2 separate regions of the Homo sapiens genome follow, and region 2 is linked to region 1. Evidence: promoter capture Hi-C in 16 types of primary human blood cells and fetal thymus (Javierre and others, 2016). All regions are on one chromosome and are shown on one strand. Each heading gives the region's core, a stretch centred on a gene start or on the middle of the fragment in contact. The rest is flanking DNA. Distances are from core to core; before and after follow the strand shown. Region 1 holds the start of UQCRFS1 (ubiquinol-cytochrome c reductase, Rieske iron-sulfur polypeptide 1). Region 2 holds the start of PLEKHF1 (pleckstrin homology and FYVE domain containing 1).

Region 1 (3,847 bases), core at 505-3,004:
TGCTGTGTGACAACTTCTCTGGAAATGTCTTTTATCCTAAGGTTGTTGCCAAGGGAGAGCACTGAGCCAGCTGTGTGATGAGCCTGGCTAGGGTGGCCCCTGAGGAGGCAGCCTCCAATCTTGAGAGTACAATATAGTCCCTTGGGCTATAAGGCTGGTCAAAGCCTAGGCCCTAAGGGGAGTCATAGGAAGGTCAAAGGGGAAACCTGTCAGTACACTTTGGACCTGGCATGAGGAATAACAACGAGTCAGCAAGGATCAAGGGAAGGCTTCTTAGAGGAGGTGGCATCTCAGATAAAAACACCACTAGCAAATCCTCACTTGGTGCTGCCTGTGTGCTGGGCCTGCTTGTAGATGCTTTACACGTTTTAGTTCATTTACTCCTCCCAGTAACTTTACAACACACATGGCATCATTACTGCCCCCATTTGGCAGGTGAGGAAACTGAGGCACAGAGAGGTGAGGGAACTTGCCCAGATCACAGAGCCCATGCACAGCACAGAGCCAATTCTGTGCACTGCTTATATTAACATTTACTTAATATTTAAATTATTTTTGACCTAAATGAAAAACTTTATCTCAGTATAGTACAGAATAGAAAACCAGTATGGATAGAAAATCAATACTATGAACCATATAATGAAATCACTCTAGACTCAGTTCTCTGCTAAGAGCTTCTAACTCAAGATCTTTTCTGTTAAAAGTGGGAGATAAGTGTAGAGAGGAATTAAAGATATATTAGGATCAAACTGAGGCCAAGTGAATTTGCTCATGCCTATAATCCCAGTACTTTGGGAGGGGGAGACAGGACTCCTTGAGGCCAGAAGTTCGAGACTGGAGTGGGCAATATAGTGAGACCTCATCTCTACTTTTTTTTTTTTTTAATTAAAGATGTATTAGCACCAAACTGAGACTTTCTCATTGGTGCAATCAGGATTGAAAAACAAAACAAAAGAAAACAAAACTTTCTCACTATGTGATGGAACATGAATGAGCGAGCTCTGTGCATCCTCTAAAATTCTAAAATCCTACTTTGGGAAACAGTGGTGGCACTGAAGAGCATAGACTCAGGAGACAGATTACCCTGCTTCACATCTTGCTGGCTATCCAGTTCCTGGAAAAGAATCTCTCTAAACCTCGGTTTCTTCATGGGTAAAATGCTGATAGTAATAGCTCTGACTTCATAGAGACCTTGATAACAAATGAAAGAACGTAGGTATAATAAAACGCAAAACCAAATACACAGTGAATACTTAATAAACATAATCCATTAGCATTATCGAGCTTTGCACAGATGCCTCTGGCCTTTTTGTTGTTGTTGTTGTTAGATGAAGATAATAAAAATCATCATAGTAAACACATAGCGATTACTATGTGCTGGACTTCGTCGTAGTTGAGATATATTACCATCCTAAGTTAAACTATAATCGTTTATTGTTATCTCTAGGTCTTCCTAGATGAAATTTTTACCCTAAAGGATCGTAAAGTCGGCCCACCGGACGTCAGTGGGGTCCCCTGTTCAGCCCTCTCGTTCTTCTGGGGATCTCTCGGGACACTGACGAGGTGGCACCGGGACCTACAGGTGGGCCGCAAGCCCCGCCCCCAGCGACGGCTTGTAGCCCCGTCCCCCGACGCAGCGCCTCTCCAAGTTTGCCCCGCCCTGCAGGACTGCAGAATTTCCTTTCCGGCGGCGCGCTGTCGTCACGCGTCCCGCGCCTCCTCGCGCCTGCGCCGTGGTTGGAAGGTCGTCCCTGTGACCGGCTTGGCGGTTGGAGCGGCTGTCGCCATGTTGTCGGTAGCATCCCGCTCAGGCCCGTTCGCGCCCGTCCTGTCGGCCACGTCCCGCGGGGTGGCGGGCGCGCTGCGGCCCTTGGTGCAGGCCACGGTGCCCGCCACCCCGGAGCAGCCTGTGTTGGACCTGAAGCGGCCCTTCCTCAGCCGGGAGTCGCTGAGCGGCCAGGCCGTGCGCCGGCCTTTGGTCGCCTCCGTGGGCCTCAATGGTGAGCCGGGGCGAGGGCCGCGAGCAGGGCTGGGGGTCTCTCGGTGCCCGCTCCTCCGGCCCCCAGCAGGGAGCGGCCGCGGGCGCGCGAGCGGAGCCTGAATCAGGTCGGGCTGGGCGGCCTCCGCAACTCTGGGCCTGGCCCCCGGGCTCGGGGCGTCTTTCTGGTGGCCGGCCTGGACTCGCGTCCGCCGGCTTCGCCTGGTTCCTCCTCGGCCGAGTTCACGAGCTCTGTAGTCCCGCTGTTCCAGCCACCTCTGAGGGGTTTTGTTGCTTGCAGGTCGTTTGACCTTGGGCGAGTTTCTAAACGTACTTCCTGTGAAATGGATTCATATCTTTATCAATTTTGTAGGGGTGTCGTGAGGCTTAGGTGGAGGAATTCTACGTAAAGCCGTTAGCACAGTTTGGGCACTTACATGCTTAAGAAATGGAAACTTACTAATATTTGGGAAGTTGGTCTTCTCACCACTACCGATCCCTTCATGTCCTTCCCCTTCATCACCCCCCCACCAAAAAAAAAACAAAAAAAACATACACAAGGTCAGTTACAGTGTAGTGTCACAACATAATCAGTCGTCAAGGACGGGCAGAGATTGACGACATTTACATTTTACAGATGAGAAAACAGACGAGGTAGAATGACTCGCACCAGGATCCGTGGTGTGGACATGTGGTAGCAGGGATTTGACAAGACGAATTGTCGTAGCCACTGAGCTCTTCGCAGGGGCTATTCCACACCCTCTGTCCTTAGATCCCCGTTTATCTTCTTTGCCTCGCCTTCCATCTTTACTTGGCCCTGTATCGGAGATAGAGAAATGGCAGCCTGTGGGCAGTGTGTCTGCAGGCTGTGTAGTTTTCAAAAAAACTGGGAAGACTAATGGCATCTCTTAAAATGCTGGAAGCCGGTAATACTGGGATCTAGTTTCTACTTGGGAAAATTCCATAGTGTGCTGTGTAGTGGCCGCCCCCGCAGTTGGAGCAAGTGGTCTTCTCCAGTTTGTCACAGTCTTTACCAGGTCTGCGTGTTTCATTCTGTTACCAGCCTGGCTCCACTGATAGCTGTTTGTGACTCTTCCCCTACACGCTAACCAAATTGCCCGCCACTTTTCTTTTTACTCTGTCTTCATTCACCCTGGGCTCTGCACTTTCTTCATGGTCCTTCCACTAAGTTGCTACATGTCCATATGTTTTCCTTACCCATCTTTTCAATCTCAGTTAAGGATCAGGTGAATAAAGTTTTTATTTGCTGATTTGTCTGTCTCTGTAGCACATACACTTTACACTCTGTATTGTGTTTATTGGTAACTCCTCCACCCTTGGGCTTAAGGGCATAGAGAAGGTAATATCTTCTTTATTTTTCTATCTTTCACAACGTCGGATTTTGTATACAGTTAGTGCAAAGTATTTGTGAATGAATATTTGTTAAGGAGCATCAGTGGGTTTTGAAGAAACTGTCCATGGCAGGTGTAGAGTACCCTAGCCCATCCTTGGGACCTGGAGGTGAGAAGGAAGGAAGGAGAACATTTCAATAGCAAAAGAAAAGCATCTTTGGAATTCGTCGTGTTGCTAAAGTTTCTTCAAAAAATTGGAGGCTTACATTTCTCTGATGGCCAGTGATGCTGAGCATTTTTTCATGTGTTTTTTGGCTGCATAAATGTCTTCTTTTGAGAAGTGTCTGTTCATGTCCTTCGCCCACTTTTTGATGGGGTTGTTTGTTTTTTTCTTGTAAATTTGTTTGAGTTCATTGTAGATTCTGGATATTAGCCCTTTGTCAGATGAGTAGGTTGCAAAAATTTTCTCCCAATTTTTAGGTTGCCTGTAAACCACAATGAGATACCATCTCACACC
Region 2 (3,853 bases), core at 973-3,472, 450 kb before region 1:
CCCAAGATGGTAGCCCTGGAAAGTAGGAGCTGGGCAGCGGTGGGGGATGGGGTGGGGGCTGTAACTGCTCTGCCTCGGGTTACAGGTGGAGAACCTGCTCAGGGACGTGCAGGGCCAGGGTCACCAAGGGAATCAGAGTTCTGGGGGCAGCTCAGCCCTTTGGACTTTCCCTTGACTTCCAGATCGGGGCTCCTCCTTCCCTGCAGGGACCTGGGCCGCACGCAGACCCACCCTGCTTCCATGCCTGCCTGATTTCATTTTCCAAATATTTATGAGTCCCACTGTGTGCCAGACACTGTGCGAGGTTACAGCCGGGAGCTGGAGACCAGGCCCTTCAGGAATGCACACTTCTTGCCAGTGAGACTAGAAGTACATTCACAGGGTCTTTTCTGAGAGCCAGTGCTAAACACTGTGAAGAAAAAGACTGGTGCGCCCAGCAGGGCAGGGCCTGGGAGGACGGTGGAGGTCGAGGAAGGAAGGCCTTGGGAGGAAGTGAACTCACTCCAGCCTGAAGTCAGCTGTGCAAAGATCTAGGGGCAGAGCTCCGGTCCTGGGGAGCAGCTCAAGGTGGAATGGGTGAAGTCAGGCTGCGGAGGAAGGAGCGATGGGGCAAGGAGGACAGATGAGGTTGCAGTGCCGGCAGGAGACATCCTGCAGGCTCCCAGGCCAGCGTGAGGATGTGAGGTTTTCTCCATGTGCATTGAGACTGCAGCATCAGGCGCCAAGCCTCCTCTCCCTCCAGAGGGGCCGCCCCTGGGCTCTGTCCAGCCCTGTGATTCCTGGAAGGCCCTCCTCCGGGAAGAGACCGGTAATGAAAAACAAAGCAAAACAAAACTGGAAGTGCCGCCGACTGAGCACTTAGAGCTCACCAGGCACAAAGTTAAGCATATTACGTTCATTATTTCACTTAATCCTCACAAAAGCCCCCTTGGGGAAGGTACTTCCACCACATCAAAGTCACTGCCCAAGGTCCCTGCTGAGTGATCAGGAAGCTCGGCTCCAAAATAACCATGAGCTGTGGAAAGCTGCACTCAACCAGAGACCAAATCAGAACTCCAGAAGTCAGAGTCCAGCGGGTGTTGCCTGCGCTCCAAATGCCTGATGCCCACCCCATCCCGAGCAGGTCCGTCAGCTTGGCTGGGCTGTCCCACCCTCCAGGCCACACTGGCCAATCCCCCTTCCTTCCTCGGGGTGGGCTGGGTTGGGCAGGTCCCCTAGTTCACCCAGGGCTGCCTGGCCTGTGTTTTGGCAGCCCGGAGGGCTGACGTGTGCAGGGACGCAGGCCGAAGTCAGAGAGTCATCTCAGCTCACAACAGACTCCAGTGGGAACGACGCTGTGCAGAGGGACGATCCCAGCGCATTAGGGGACTACCTCCCCACCTCCTTGGCCTCTGACCCTCTCTGGCCAGGAGATACCAGAGGTGTTCAAATTCCAAAGGAGTGCTCCCCTTGGGCTGCAGAGATCAAGTTTCAGCGTGGCTCGGAACCTCTCTGCTTTCCCACCTGCAAAGAGGCTGACCACACCTCTGCCCTACACGGCCCGCCAGGTGTTGGGGAAACGAGAAAGGAGGGAGATTCCAGGCCGCCTCTCTCTGCGGGCCTGCTCAATAGTTTCCTCTCTGAGATGGGAGCAGTGCCCGACCCTGTTTCCCTTGGCAGCTCCCACCAAGAATCACAAACTCAACTGCTCCAGAGGAACTGGGACCCCAGCGCCCCCCGCCGCGCCCCTGCCCAGGGGGACAGTGGTCCCATCCAGGCCTCCAGACTGCAGACTGGGGCTGAGAAGAGAGGTCCCGGCGGCCACACGAGGCCAGGATCCCGGAAACACCACCAGCGACCGGGTGCGCTGAGACCCCTGCAGTCCCGGGTGGCCCGCGACCCCCTTACCTCCACCAGCTTACATCTGCGCGTTTCCCCGGGGATTCCGCCTCGGACGCTCTGACCCCTGACCGCTCTCCCCAGGCTCCCTGCAGGTTCACCCCGCAAGCCGCCCAGGAGCGCCCTTCCCAGGCCTCTTCTTGGGCTGGAGTCAGCGGCACTGCGCCCCGCCGGCCCAGGAGCCGCCAAGACCGCGCGGCGGGAGAGAGCTCGCTTGTCCGGGGGTGGTGATGGGAGACTCGCCTCATGCGCCTGCCCCGCGACCCGCAGCCCGGCCGGGGGACGGTGGGGGGACTCACCTTCTGCGCCGGCCCCGCGCCCAGCCCTCGAGTCCACACCGCAGTAGCCCGGGTCCCCGCCCGCTCCGCCCGGGTCCCGGCCAGCTCCGCCGGACACGCCCCCGCGGTGGCTCGGCCAATCGGAGCCCGGGAAGCGGGAGGGGCGGGGCTTGGGCGCGGCGCTCGGAGGGCGCCCGAGCTTGTGCGCGCTGCAGGTCCGGGGCTGGGCGGGACTGTCGCCCGTGTTTGACCCCCTGGCCCCGCCCGGCTTCCCTTTCCGCTCGCCGCTGCCCCACGCGGAGCGCGACTGCCGTCACCCGGTGGGACTGCGACCCTGGCCTTGGGCAGGGGTGGGGTGGGGGCGCCCGCGACTGCGAGACCTGCGGGACTTGGCGGGGAAAGGGGCAGTGGGAGGCTTGTGCCTTCTGGTGCCTCCGGCGGGCCTCACAGCACAGTCACCCTCAGCGGTCAATAATCGTAATATGAAAATGCAGCAGCACTTTATAACCTTTTTTTTTTTTTGAGACGGTGTCTCCCTCTGTCGCCCAGGCTGGAGTGCAATGGCGCGGTCACGGCTCACTGCAGCCTGCACAGAAATCATCCTGACCCCAGGAGAATTAGCCCACCAGGACCGGCTAGTTTTTGTATTTTTGTACAGACGGAGGTCTCACTATGTTGCCCAGGCTGGTCTCGAACCCCTTAGCTCAAGCCATCCTCTCGCCTTGACCTCCTAAAGTGCTGGGATTTCAGTAGTGAGCCACCGCACCTGGCCTATTTTAAGCTTTTTATAGTGGAAAATTTCAAACTGAAGGAAAGAGAATAGTCCAGGGGACCCTGGTGCCCGTCACCCAGGTCCAACACTAGCAGCAAGTTATGTCACCCCTGACTCAACCGCACCTGAGCCTCCTGTGCGGCTCAGAAGGAAATTCCCAGGCCTCAGTGCCCGGAGGCCTTCCTGGCCCTCCCTGGCCTCCTCCCCACAGGTCCTCTCAAATGGGCTTCTTCCTGTTCCTTAAAGCCTCAGGCCTTTGCTTCTACCTCCATCAGACCTCAAACTGTCACCTCCTCAGGGAGGCTGCCCTGGCCACCCAAAGCGGTTCCCTGTCTCCACCCCATCTCCCTCCACAGTCACCCGTGTTTGTAATTTTGCAAAGCATCTCCCAACCCAGAGTCCTCTCCTGAGGCCGCTCGTGGGATTCAGGGCTGCCTACCAGGCTGTGGCTTCTGTGGAATGCTCATAAACAAGTCATGCTGGTGGCTTGCCTCCCACCCAGGCTGTGAGCCCCACGGGCTAGACAGTAATTTCTTCTCGTGTTCAGACAGGACTTTCTTCTGGTTCACCCCTGCATACCGAGTGCTGAGAACGGGCAGCGCATAGGAGGAACGCAGTCCCTACCTGTCACATAGATGCAGGTTGTCTTGCCAAATAGAACTCCACCTGGGCACCCTGAGAGGGGTGGCTCAGGCCGGGGCAGGCCTGCTGGGCCAGGACCAGGTGAGAGGGGAGCAGCGGGGGGAGGGCTGATGGGCTGTAGGGCTGTGGGGCTGGAGCTAGAAGAGGTGCCTGCTCTCTTGGCAGGGGGCTATGGGCGAGGCTGTGAGGTGGGCCCAGTGCTGGAGACGGTCCTCTCCCAGCTGAGAAGGGAAGGGAAAGGGGGTGACGGAGGGGGAGGGAGAGGGGACAGGCAAGTGAGAGG

The links. The method cuts DNA at HindIII sites, captures the fragments that hold promoters and counts their contacts. A CHiCAGO score of 5 or more calls a contact.
Region 2: the fragment with the promoter of PLEKHF1 here is called in contact with the fragment with the promoter of UQCRFS1 in region 1 in 1 of 17 cell types (erythroblasts); the score reaches 7.5 in erythroblasts.

The regions. Positions count from the first base shown.
Region 1 is chr19:29,211,058-29,214,904 of GRCh38, reverse strand. UQCRFS1 (ubiquinol-cytochrome c reductase, Rieske iron-sulfur polypeptide 1) reads left to right here and starts at 1,754. Exons shown (of 2, transcript NM_006003.3): 1 at 1,754-2,000. The coding sequence starts at 1,787. UQCRFS1-DT (UQCRFS1 divergent transcript) reads right to left here and starts at 1,652. Exons shown (of 2, transcript NR_184022.1): 1 at 1,497-1,652. RefSeq lists an enhancer at 1,571-1,810 and a silencer at 1,851-2,160. The HindIII fragment of the contact is 13,970 bases long and covers 1-3,847 here.
Region 2 is chr19:29,663,830-29,667,682 of GRCh38, reverse strand. PLEKHF1 (pleckstrin homology and FYVE domain containing 1) reads right to left here and starts at 2,222. Exons shown (of 2, transcript NM_024310.5): 1 at 2,178-2,222. It overlaps LOC105372353 (a long non-coding RNA gene), which reads left to right and starts at 2,428. Exons shown (of 7, transcript XR_935896.3): 1 at 2,428-2,476; 2 at 3,476-3,651. RefSeq lists enhancers at 1,115-1,164, 1,785-1,904, 1,356-1,909, 1,910-2,463 and a silencer at 1,985-2,654. The HindIII fragment of the contact is 18,952 bases long and covers 1-2,939 here.